2 separate regions of the Homo sapiens genome follow, and region 1 is linked to region 2. Evidence: promoter capture Hi-C in human tissues and cell types (Jung and others, 2019). All regions are on one chromosome and are shown on one strand. The core of a region is centred on a gene start or on the middle of the fragment in contact, and the rest is flanking DNA. Distances in the headings are between cores, read along the strand shown.

Region 1 (6,875 bases), core at 1,563-4,062, 770 kb after region 2:
ATAGGATAGACACGTTTTTAATACTGTCCTCGCCATGTTCTCCTGGGGCTATAGAGCCAGACCTAAAGTTGCACGTCATGCCAGGTCATCATATTGCTCATGAACAAGATCATGTGGAAGGGAGTGTGGATGCAGCTGTTATTCTCTTTTTCCCCATCTGAACCTAAATCCTGTTCCTTTGGATAGCAATTCAGCTCATTAGGTTCTAGACTAGTTTCAGTATAGTAGTAATGGAAAAAAGTATGATGTTATCAGCTATACTCATATTAAGCTACAGAGAATACTGCAGTTTTGCCTTGACCAAAGAATGCCTCTACTAGATGAAAATCAGAACTTAAAGTACAAGTAAATAAATAGGTGATTACAAAAGACTCTTACATTTTAGAAGGCTTCTCCATAGAGCCCCTTTTAAAAAAATGAACTCCTCTAGTGTTTTTAAGTGTTTTACAGACCATTAACTACATGGCAGAGGGGCAATGAGAAGGGATTTCTAAATTTAATGAACTAGGACACACTCAAATTGAGGACAGATAAAAATAAGACAAGTTATATTTAAAATTCTACTTTATCAGTGGGAAAACGCAACCATGAAAACCATCTAAACATAAACTTGAAAAGTATTCAGTTCTCAGGTATGCTATACCTGAGAGAGTGACAACTTGATGAAAACATTGATGATGATAATATTGTATAAATATGATAATTATATATATCAATATATTAGTCTACAGAATATATACAGCAATATCTACATGTGTGCCTTGCATATATATGTTATATACAATAGATATAAGTACTATATATGGTATATTTTAAAAATTATTAAATATGGGTATCTGTGTATTTTTACGTGACATTAATATTATAATTTAATAGATATATTTATAGATATTAACTATATCTGCATGTATTTGTGTATATATTCAATGTGTTTATGTAAGTGTGTGTGTGTGTGTGTGTGTGTGTGTGTGTATGTGATTCAGCCATCACCTAACAAAGTGGAGGCATCATTCAAACTTCGCACCTTTGCATTTTACACCTAGATTTAATACTGACATTGACTGCAAATCTCACTCCACAGAATACAAAATAACCCAATTGTCCATTCATTCCCAGCTCTTGAACTCTTAAATCTCGTTTAGATATGGTTTAAACCAGGAAATAAATTAGCCACATCCGTAGAAACTTTGGCTATAATTGCCTAGTGTATTTTTCCACTAGTAGTGTTTGAAATGCTTCCTATGAAGTAAATGCTTTACAAAGGTAGCAGAAGGAGATTCCTGAAAATAGTAGTGTAAATGGCCTTGACTGCATTTTGATAGGAAACTTCAAGCCATGTTGATTAATACATTATCCATAAAATTAAACCAGCCTAGAAAAGGTTAATTTTTAAATAACTGTAATGTTAATGTAATACTTATTTTTGATGAGGACAGGCTGAAGAGAGCTTAATAAAATATACTAGACAAATTCAGATAATATACTACTTCAAAACTGTTCCATGAATAACTTTCCATTTTTAAATTCTTCTATGGAATAGTAGAGTATGACCATTAGTATGTTTTTAATTTAAAATGCATTTTGGAACATATTAACAGTAAAATTGAAAGAACAGGGATTTGAAGATTTGGATTCTGTCTGTATTAATAGCTGATTGCATAGTACCAGATAATCTTTCTTTTTCTCTTCTTTTCTTTCATTTTTTAATTTTTTTATTTTTTTATTTTTTTATTTTTGAGACAGACTTTCACTCTTGTAGCCCAGGCTGGAGTGCAATGGCACAATCTCGGCTCACTGCAAATTCCGCCTCCCAGGTTCAATCGATTGTCCTGCCTCAGCCTGCCGAGTAGCTGGGATTACAGGCGCCCACCACCATGCCTGGCTAATTTTTGTATTTTTAGTAGAGACGGGGATTTCACCATGTTGACCAGGTTGGTCTCGAACTCCTGACCTCAGGTGATCTGCCTGCCTCGGCCTCCCAAAGTGCTGGGATTACAGGCATGAGCCACTGCACCCAGCCCCACTGCACCCAGCCCCAGATAATCTTTCTGATTCTTGATTTTCTCATCTAGAGACTGGAGATAATTCAGTCTTCCCAGTTGACTTCACAGCACTGTTGTAAAGAATCAAAAGAGCTCATATATATGTACGATTATATCTGTATAATCTCTATATATGTTCTCAAATACAGTAAGGTATATGTAAATATATGTAAAGTATTTTAATGTTTCTACAGTTTTAATGTTTTAAAAGGAACACATTTCATAGAAGAATGTTACGAGAAGGTAATGATTTCTCATTTTGAACATAAGATAGCTGGATTTGATATCAGTATTAATTTTTATTGGGTATTGACTTAGCTTTGCTTATCTTATAACAAGAGGCCATAATCCAAGCATAGTTTATTCCATTGACTTTATTACTTTATCAAAGCTAGTAATTACACTTCTGGTGTTTCCAGACCAACAACAAAAACAATTGAACATAATGCAATGAATATTGCAATGAAAAACATTTGTCATTATAATGTACTAGAATTCCAGGAAGATGCAATATATTCTATTTGTGTGTAGTTTCTTATAAACAGCCTTAGTTCTATTTGAAGCTAAAGAAGAACAGGATGGTTAGTTTCAATATGTTAACAGCTCCTTCTCTTTAAGTAAAATAGAAAATGGAAAAGAGAAGGACCTAGAAAGAAGCATGTCTCACTCCATCCAGAAGTCATGAAAGCAGATGATGCAGTGATGTACCTAGCTCTGAGGTCCTCTTTTGTATAAGAGAAATAAATATTCATATATACAGTATATCTGAGAAGAGGGCTTCTTCAGAGGAGAACCCAGAGAGAGCCCAGTGCCCACAAGAAAATGCCTGGGTGAGCTTATTATAGTTCTGGTTGCCCAAGCAAATTATATTTTACCTACGTGAAAATAATAGTAATAGTGAGAAAAATGTTCTTGAACATTTGAATGGTGCTTTCATTCATTCATTTATTCATCCATCCAGCAAATGTTTATTAAGCACCTACTGTGAAGTAGGCAATGTGCTAAACATTGTCATACTGTAGCGAAGAAGAGAGACTGGTCCTTGTTCTCTTGGAGATTACAAGCTAATCATGGACAGAAACTATTTTAGTTTTTTTTTTTTAAGATACAGTGTGTACTAAACATTTGCAGGAGGAAAAGGCATGCTTAGAAGAAAAATAGAGAATGTGGAGCTACTTTAATTTGGGTATCAGGGAAGCGTTCTGTGAGAAAGAGATATTTGGAATGATATGTGAAGGATGAGGAGCCAGGGAACAGCGTTCCACTGGTGAGAGTAGCATTTGTGAAGGTGTGCAAAAACCTGAAGGACGGCCTTTGTGGCACAAGTTAGAGAAAAAAAGAGGAAGTAACGCCACATGGTATTAGAAAGGTTGACAATGGCCACATTATGTGGAGGCTCGTTGACCATGACAAAGAATTTGGATTTTATTAAATGTGCAAAGGGAAACTGCCAAATGGTTTTACACAGAAATGGTGAAAATATACAAATACATCGTAATGTTACTATGTGAAAATATATAGGAAATGTGATGCAATGAAGTTACAGACATCATTATGAGGTGGTTAGCAGAATTGGCTTTGTGGGTATGCAATCTGTGCCATAGCACAAAGCTTCCCTCTCAGAAGGTCCTGCTCTTGGATTAATGCTCTGACAACTCCATCTTGAAATTCATAATAATTTTTAAACTGGGAGGCTTGGATTTTTACTTTTCATTGGGTCCCCAAATTATGTAGCTAATACTGTCTACTATAGAAATCGAGTTGCAAGATGATGTTATAAACTAGGATAATGACACTGGAGAAAGACAAAAGTTATCAGCTGGACGCGGTGAGTCAGGCTTGTAATCCTAGCACTTTGGGAGGCTGAGATGGGCAGATCACCTGAGGTCAGGAGTTTGAGGCCAGCCTGGCCAACATGGTGAAACCCTGTCTCTACTAAAAATACAAAAATTAGCTGGGCGTGGCAGTGCATGCCTGTAATCCCAGCTACTTGGGATGTTGAGGCAGGAGAATCCACTTGAACCCAGGAGGCAGAGTTTGCAGTGAGCCAAGATCATGCCACTGCACTCCAGCGTGGGTGACAGAGCGAGACTCTGTTACAAAAAAATAAAAAAAGTTATCTCTATTTCACAAGTGAAACACAGCTATAATTCTGTATCAGATTGCCAGTAATATGGGCTTTCAATTTGGTCCAAGTAGAGCATTTTAATTGTTTACTCAATCCTAACTTATGATAATCAACACATATTACATCCATTTAGTAAATACTAGTTTTCAAAAGATTGCTAATTTTTGTCATCTTCTGTTAGTGCATCTGCATGTTATGTATGTACAATAGAGATTAATTCCAAAGGGCGTGAAACATTTACCTTTACCTTTCCATTTCATTAATATCTATCAAGCCCAAAGCGTACAAAAGACTCTGTTGTAAACTTAGAGTGATGCAGGTATTTTCTATTAAGAGCTTATAACTGAGTTGAAAGTTAAGATCTAAATAGCTATAATACAAGAAAGGATATACTTGTAAAGGAGATACAAACAATGAACTGTAAGATTTTTCGTTTCTTTAGAAGAATCATTAGAAGTTTTATCAAGTGTTTCTGCTTATTTAATCACAGGAGTTCAAAGATGTTTGTCGTGACACCAGAATGTGGGATGACATTATTATGACATTTCATTTTAATTAAAACTAGATATTGCCAGGGATTCCATAGTAGGTATCTCCCAATATGTAGTAATCCATAAGATTGTCATGGTATGTATGAAAATCCCATTTAGAAGATAAATATTATTGAGGTCTTTAAAGAAAAAAACTTCAAAATGCCTCTCCTTATTTCCTGCAGAATGAAATAGATCTATAATTAAAATAATTCTTAGTATTCATCATCAGAGTTGAAAAATAAAATCAGACTTTTGATTCCTAGATGGAAATCTATTAAGAGATAAATGAAAATATTGTGGTTGCTGCACAAGACATCTGTCTTCAGTTTAAGCTGCACAAACTGCAAGCAAATGTGGATGTTTTCTCTATAGTATGGAACTTTCATCAGGGAAAAGCCTAGTTTGATGATGAAATTTCAAAGCAGATATCCCAAAAGAACACACACACCCCCCCCACACACACACACACACCCTACACATACACCAAACAGAAGAACACATGGGCAATGGAGGGATATACCAGTGCCCCAGAGACAGAGACCTCTGGCACTAAAGAGCTGTTCTTGTCATGCATGACAGCTTAAGGCTCCAGACATTTCATCCCAGGACATTTGTTACAGTTGCAGGCTTCCATAATTCAGGCTGTGGGCAGAGTTTCTAGCTTATATCTCCCGAGACCTACTCAGGGATCTGGTTTGCCTTGCACTTATCTCCCTTCTCAAACCTGTGCCTCTACAATAAAGTAGTCATGTATCTATCCAAAGTGCACACACTTTGTAACTTAGGGTAAAAGAAAATGCTTACCAACTTAGGCTATACCAAGTTGTATAAACCAATATTGCACTCACCCTCTTGATTCTACCCATTCTCAAAGTACAGTAAAAGAGAGCTATTACTCGCTCCACAATCACTGAGCCTGACATGATGCACAGAAGAGTTTAACATGAAAATAAGATGGACTGATGGGCTAAGGACGTAGAGGACATTGAGAAGATTTTATACAACTTGAGAAATATGTGTAAGTCTTACAGTTGGGATATTTAGGAAAAGGAAGGAGCATTTTGGATAGTCTTATCTTTATCTCAAATATCAATATCCTGGTTTAGGCTTTTAGGACCACTCTTCTGCGCTATAACTGTAGACTTTCTTCTCCCAGCTTCTCCTTCTCCAGACCCTTTACATATCACTGCCAGTTTATTTTTTCCAAAGCTTATTTTCTGATTCAGAGCATTCAGTGATACTTCTTGACCAACAAATGTAAGGGATTCTTTCATCTGGCATTCAAGGCTGTTTGTGATCTCCCTGCAACCTATTTTGCCAGTTTTTTGTTTGTTTGTTCGTTTGTTTGTTTGTTTGTTTTTTGAGACAGAGTCTCACTCTGTCACCAGGCTGGAGTCAGTGGCGCGATCTCAGCTCACTGCAATCTCTGCCTCCTGAGTTCAGGCGATTCTTCTCCTGCCTCAGCCTCCTGAGTAGCTGGGACTACGAGCATGCCCCCATGCCCAGCTAATTTTTGTAGTTTCAGAAGAGACAGCGTTTCACCATGTTGGCCAGGATGGTCTCCATCTCTTGACCTCATGGTCCACTGGCCTCGGCCTCCCAAAGTGCTGGGATTACAGGCGTGAGCCACTGCACCTGGCCTATTTTGTCAGTCTTACTTTTGTTACTTCCTTCCATGTAAATTATCTTTCAGTAAAGTGGTTTTCAAACATGCTCTCCTCCTTCCTATAACAGCCTCAATACATTGGCTCATGGCATGCAGTTCTTCTGACTCTTTATTTTCCTTGCCATTGAAATTCTACTAATTCTCACCTACCCCAGGAAGCTTTGTTTATTTTTCCCACTGGATATATTTATCTCCTCTAAACTAAGAAAGCATCTATTTTATACATATATTCATATTTACCATCCAAATCCACATTTATTTGAGTAATTGTACTTGGTTTTACCCATCTTTCTACTGCAGCCCCAATTATAAATACCATATGGACCATACTTTTATATGTCTCTGTCTCACATCATGCCTCCTGATCACACACACAAAAAAGGTTCCGTAAGGTTTAAAAAATGGCTAGAAAAGAATGGAAGAGTATTCTCCGTATTCTTAGATTTAACAATCATTTTATTTCCATCCAGACCTTATGGAAAGTCCATTGGCTGAAAACAGAACAG
Region 2 (6,556 bases), core at 2,230-4,729:
AGTTGAGCACATTATACTGTTTGTTCCATGAAATATGAACCAACGTATTCCTTTTGGTCTTTTTAACAGGAATGCTGGAAATATTTGGGCCTAACTGATCTTTAGTCATTATCCTACTGGTCAATATGGGTAGGAATTAATTTGGCCCTTGAAAATCAGACAGCGGAAAAAATGCACCTCATGATCATTCAGCCTCTGACTTTTTGGGAGGAAATCATTTTCAAAGAAATGTCCCCCACCAAAAAAAATCTCTTAATGCTACACTGCAAAGGGAAAATAAAGGCATATGGAAATCTGAATTTTTGTTGTGTTTCTAAATTTGTAATATTGAATAACTTTTTAGATGTGAAATTAAAGATGACTCATAAGTCCTACTTCTGACTTTGGTAGTAATAATATTCATTTATGTACTGTAAACTATTAGGTTCAAACATAAGCTGTTTCTCCAAAGCCTACAAAAAATTAATGTGGAACACCTGATATTTCACTGTGCTTCCAGATGGAGGGACAGCTTGACAAACGCCATCATAATTTACAACTTTTAAAAAGTGTGGTGCAAATGCATTTGCAGTAAAAGCTTTAAACAGCTTGCATTATTTACAGGTACAACTGTGCTTAATGTGCAATTTCAATGAATTTAAAATATTATTAGATTAAATCACTGATCACAGAGCATAGGTGTGGCACGTGAGCAATGTGATTAGATGCCTTAATTAATATGTCAGAACAGGATACATCTGTTTGATGAAGTTGGGGGGGATGGTAAATAGCATTTAAATTTTATATTTGATTATTGACTATCACCGATGAAACTCTTATCTTTGGAAAACCACCGTATATTGGACTTATCCTCTATAGTTGTTTAGGAGAATTATAACAGAAAACGAATATGAAAATACACTGTATAACTCTTAAAGATAACTTGGATTCTTGTACACATAAATTAACTATCAATTGCTAACTGATAAGATGTATGTTAAAGTGTAACCTGAAAGAGCAATAAGCCTGTATCCCTGTAAGTTAGGAAATTGAACATTGAACCTGACTGATTAAATTGGGGAAGAAATCATATGTATTATAATTATATATATTATATTTGTAAATTTATATATGTTTATATGTGTATATCTTTTCTCAATATATACATATGTGTGTATATGTATGTATGTATTTGGGTGTTTATATGTGTATTTATATATATAGACTGATAGAAAAATAGATATAGATAGATTTATCTATCTCTCTATATCTCCAAGAGGATCTAGAGTAAGTGGGTAAGGTGTGGTTGTAGGGAGATGCAGGAACATCTGACTTTGGAACATTACTCCATGAAAAGATAAGTAGTTATTTTGACCCATTTTAACTACAAATTCATTGATAGATATTGTGACCTATTTCTCAGCAGTAAGTAGGACAATGAGAATATGTGATGCAGAGAAACTAAAGTTTCTAAAATGAACTGCCCAGTGTATAAACGAATGTACTCTGTTCATTCAATCACCAAGTGTTCTTGGTCTCTTATGCTTCAGTCCTGAGCTAGGAACTGAGTATCCAGTAAACAATAAAAGTACACATGGGCCCCCTCTTCCTGGAGCTTCCTCTCTAAATAGAAGACATATATTAAATGAATCACATTCAAATAAATATTTAAACAACATTTGAAAAGTCTATGAAGACGAAATATAATGAAAAAGACAGAGTGGGTGTAATTTTGTTGGTGATGGGGTTAGATCATAAAGGCTTCAGTGAGACCTAAATGATGAGTAGAAGGGGAAGAAGAGCTCCAAGTGGAGGGCAATGTGCAAAGGTAGAGAAGTGGATGGAGGATGAGAAGATTACCTTGTGGTTGGAACATAATGAGTCAGGGCAAGAGTGGCGGAGAAGCGGAGTAGAGCAGGTTATTCAGCGGTTACTAGGGAGTTTGTATTATATTCTGACTGCAATGGACCATTGAAGGATTTATACCATGGGTACCTGGGTGTGTGGATGTATCGTTGTATGGCATGAGCCAGTTAATACTTTCTAAAGCTCAATCTGGTATGGATATGAGGTAAGAATAGAAGCTAGAATACCAGTAGCTTGGACCATGGTGGATGCAGCAAAATGGAGAAATGAATGATTCAAAATCTATTTAGGAGGTTGACTTCTGAGAGTTTGGGCATAGATTAAATGAGGCAATAAGGATAAAGGAGTCAAAGATGATTCTAAGGTTTCCATTTAACTTTCTAGTGTCTGTTAATATTTGATTCAAGAAAAATGTATCTGTCTTTTAGTAATTTCCAGGTTCTGGAAGGTAATCTGATGGTTTGTTCAGAGAAGCCTTCTCAACCACGCAAGGTACCCATACCCTAGTTATTCTGTCCTATTTTTCTTTTATCTTACAAGCAGGCATCACATTTTCTTACTTGCTTATTTTGAGTATAATCTCCATGACAGTGATGTGTATTCTTGAAGACTATATCCGGAGAACCTAGCACAGTGTCTGTGTCTGGCATATTGAAAATGCTCAATAAACATATTCGTTGAATAAAACGATGAATGGACTAATGAAAAAATAATAAGGGAGAAATACTTGACTCCAAGGTGTCACTACCTAGCCAAGTGCATGAAGGAGTGCCGCAAATGTCCTAACGGAAGTAGAAAGTGTTATGGTAGAAGAGAGGTGGGATGCATCTAACAGGGGTGGGGGGGGGGCGGGGAGAAAAGGAGAGAGGTCTGGAGTACACATATCCTCAAAAAACGAGGTGAATGTTTTCTGGATTGGGACCAACTCTACAGGAAATCTCTCCCTTCTCCTCAGCAAGCTCTAGAGCAAAAACGAAGAGCAACTTTTCAAAAGAGTTTCACGTTTTAGAATAAAAAATATTTAAAAAAATAACCATTAAAATGAGACTTTCCTGCAAAAAGACAACCTTGATTATGTACCACCTGCAGCACTTCCTGTATGCTGCTGCGGGCTGTGGATGTTTTTGCTCGCCTCCCTCCCCTCCCCGCTGGGGCTGTGAACTCTCAGAAGACCGGTGCTTTGGTATCCTCCACTGCAGCTCAAACCCCGCCCACCTACTTGGTGGATGGATGGAGGAACATCTACTATTTCATCCTTGAGGAGTTCCTGAAAATGCAGTTGCCCCTCAAACAATGTATCTACATCTCGCGGGGTTTCTGTGGAAGAAAAGAAAAAGTGCAAGTTGTTGCTTGGAGCGCGGACTGCTTTTACCTTTGCCTGGGGATCCCTCCTATCTGGCCCCGCCTGCCTAGCTCTGTTTTTAGCAGTTTAGAGATTAAAGGCCAGTCCCCAGAGCGGGTGCTCTACTCCCTCCCTCCCTTCTGCTTGCAGGCTGGGGCGCGGAGCGGGCTGAACTGGGAAGGCCGGGCTGCGGCTGCCGTGCCTGGCGCGGGAGCCGCAGGACCGAGAGCGCAGCCCCGCCCCGGGGGCGTTGCCGCCCCGCGCCCGCTCCGCCCCCGCGCCGCCGGCCCTAGTCTGCCTGTTTTCGACTCGCGCTCCGGCTGCTGTCACTTGGCTCTCTGGCTGGAGCTTGAGGACGCAAGGAGGGTTTGTCACTGGCAGACTCGAGACTGTAGGCACTGCCATGGCCCCTGTGCTCAGTAAGGACTCGGCGGACATCGAGGTACGGACTTCGCGCCGGCTCGTCGGTGGTGGCGGGGTGGTGGGGAGTGCTCTGCGGGTAGGTGCCGGGGAGGCCCCCGCGGCCCCCGCACCCCGGAGAGTGAGAGACGCGGGAAAGTTTCCCCCGTGGGAGCTCTGCGGGGGAGCGGAGGAGCGCGGAGCCACAGGCCCGCGTGGGCAGGCGGGGAGCTCAGGGGAGGACTTTCCGCTACTGGAGGGGTTGCCCTTTGCGTCGGGACCTGTTTACTTCGGAAGAGATTTCAGGAAGCCTGTCTTGTCCTCCTCTGAATGTCAGTGACTGAAGAAGCACTGGAGTTCCAGAGAGGTGGACTCTAGGGGGTAGGAGTGCCCATTTCCCACACGTTCTACCCCTTCACCTCCTGTATGTCGTTTCTGGACACCTCCACTGCCCCCATTTCCAATAGCTGAATCCTGCTATTTGCAAAGGTGAAGCATAGAAATAAAACATCTGTGTGTCAGCTGTAGCAGTCGCCTCTAGTCATAGTATTGTTTATGAAATAATTTAACATGGAGAGAATGGAACGAAGTATTCAGAACATGAAAAATGCAGTGCCCTCAGAAAAACTAACTGTATTTTTCTCTCCTCTCAACGGTTTTTGATTCCCTCTTGCACTCCGTTTCTGTTAAAAAAAATCTTTTTTTATGTAAATAAGGTCCTACCTGAAACGACATGGCATTTCCTTTCTCTCTAGTATCTTAATATATGCGATGAAAAGGATTTAATTATCAACAGTGATTTTACACATACTAAACCTAGGTCAGCACTTTTGAGCTAAGACAAACTGATTTTTAGTTTTCTGTTTTGTTTGGGGCTTTTCTTTATTTGAGTCTTCTACTCTGGTAGAAAATTATGTGTGTGTGTGTTTTCTTTAGAAATAACAAAATTTTCCTTTCGTCAGTCCTTTTGGCGGCTTAAGTAAAAGTTTTGCAAACCACCTGTTTGCAAAATAGCTGCTTTTGCCACATTTTGCCTCCGTAATTGAAGAAACTTTATATTCTGGGAGGAAGTAGTCCTGTTTTCTCCAGGCTCCATAACTTGGTTTGAAAAATCATTTTAGTAACAAGAGCCAAAGTGTATTATGTGGACATCTCTGGTTAGTTTACTTTTGGTTTCTGTTTTGGAGAGTTGACTTTTTGATATTGAGCAATATGATATATTTAACAAATAGTTGTTCATCTGTGTGCAGGATAATAGATACTTGTCTTTTTCTATATTTCATTTAGGGTAGTCTATTCCTTTTTGGTCCTTGTGACTTTGACTTAACTTTTTAAAAAATTTTATTTACTAAGTCGAAAAACAAGCTTCTGACAGTATTAAGGCAGTATTGATTTAAGATATCGGAGTTGACTTAGGATGGGTGGCTTTTGGCTCTTTAATTTCAGAATGGTGTGTTATCTGCTTAACTGATTTCTTTCTCTGCAGTTGTCTTCGAAATCAGTTCTTACATTCTACTGAGGAGAAAGATGCCAGTGAAACATTGAATGCCAAGCTTGATTTCATATATTGTTTCAACTAAGAACATTTAAGAAGCCCATCCTTCCCACTCCCTCCACTCAATTCAACCTTAGTCTATATGGCCAGTTTGCCTAATATTACTTTTAATCTAGATTGCTGGTGTTCAAACACCTTCAGCTCTTATGTAGTTCATATGTGCAACACTTTAATCAGTAACATCTTTCATCACTCACAGCACCTTACTTTTCCCTCAAAGTAATACCCGTGATTCATGAGCTAGAATACCATGAAAGAGCATGAAATTAATCATTAAAATATAATGCAGTGAGGAAAAATACATTAAGCTTAGGGGAGCACATTCAAGCATAAATGCCTCAGTTGATCCTATTGATTTACCAAAGTTCATTTTTGTGTTGAAGAATTAGAATGAATTATAAAGGCTCAGTTTTCCATCAAATTTGAATGCTTTTCTTGAACAAATTCATTACAACCATTGTCTAGAGATCTGATTGTGATCATTGTTTTAGCTTCAAATACATGGATAAGCAAGTAATATTTTAAAAATATTGGTATGAAGCAGTTAATGAATGTGATAAGAACACATTGATAAATGTGAAAAGTACTTGACAATTGTTAAAAGAACAGAAGGTGATGATAACAACCTACTCTAATAGTGACTGACTTTTCCCTATGAGCTAACTACAGAACCTCAGGTTTCAGTGAAACAGCCAAGAAATATCTTTGTTTCTGGGGGAAAAGTTATTGAGGTATATATAAAGGTGCTTTGTGTGCCTGCTTCATAATTTCTAGTCTGAATCCAATATCACATCAGGATTTGACGGTTAGGAACATGGAAAACAATCAGATCACCAAACTCCATAGCTGGAATATCCCTGGGCTGGGAGATAGGCAAGGAAAGGATGTGTTACTTGGTAATAGGACCTAGCTCATTACTCAGAATTGTTGTTGTTGTTGTTGTAATCATAGAAGTTGCATGAGAAATCATGTTTTTTTTCAGATATATTAATGTGGTTCAGAGCCTGGCTTCTGAAACCAACTGCCTCTGATTGAGGTCTAACTTTAAGCTGTGTGTTTGGGCAAGTTAGCCTCTCTGAATTGCACATGGAAAATCTGCTAAGGATAATAAACAAATGTCACAAGTTGACAGCATCTTGTTGGGAAAAAGGACAAAAATGTTAAAAAATAAAGATAACAGAAAAATATATCTTATTCTCAGGAAAATCACTTCCAATGAAATGATTAGCATTTTAAAGTCCGTTAATAGTAGTTATATGCTTTTAGAAGTTATTTTGCTTTGTGAGTGTACTGTTTGGATACAGTCTGAATTTTGTCAACGATGACTTTAATACAAACTCTCCTGGGATGGTTTCAAAGAAGGTTAGTATTGGACATTGGTCACTTTCCCAGGCCTCAGCAGTAACTTAACAGCA

The links. Contacts are between HindIII fragments. The study calls those that stand out against the background at their distance.
Region 1: a fragment that was not itself captured here is called in contact with the fragment with the promoter of DPYD in region 2 in 1 of the 25 tissues and cell types used here (dorsolateral prefrontal cortex).

The regions. Positions count from the first base shown.
Region 1 is chr1:97,146,537-97,153,411 of GRCh38, reverse strand. All of the region lies in intron 20 of DPYD (dihydropyrimidine dehydrogenase), which reads left to right. The region is part of intron 1 of DPYD-AS1 (DPYD antisense RNA 1); the gene reads right to left. Among named protein-coding and RNA genes, the nearest start is that of DPYD-AS1, 54 kb to the right of the region's middle. The HindIII fragment of the contact is 8,159 bases long and covers 1-6,875 here.
Region 2 is chr1:97,917,957-97,924,512 of GRCh38, reverse strand. DPYD (dihydropyrimidine dehydrogenase) reads left to right here and starts at 3,479. Exons shown (of 23, transcript NM_000110.4): 1 at 3,479-3,629. The coding sequence starts at 3,591. RefSeq lists a silencer at 3,274-3,673. The HindIII fragment of the contact is 7,083 bases long and covers 1-5,294 here.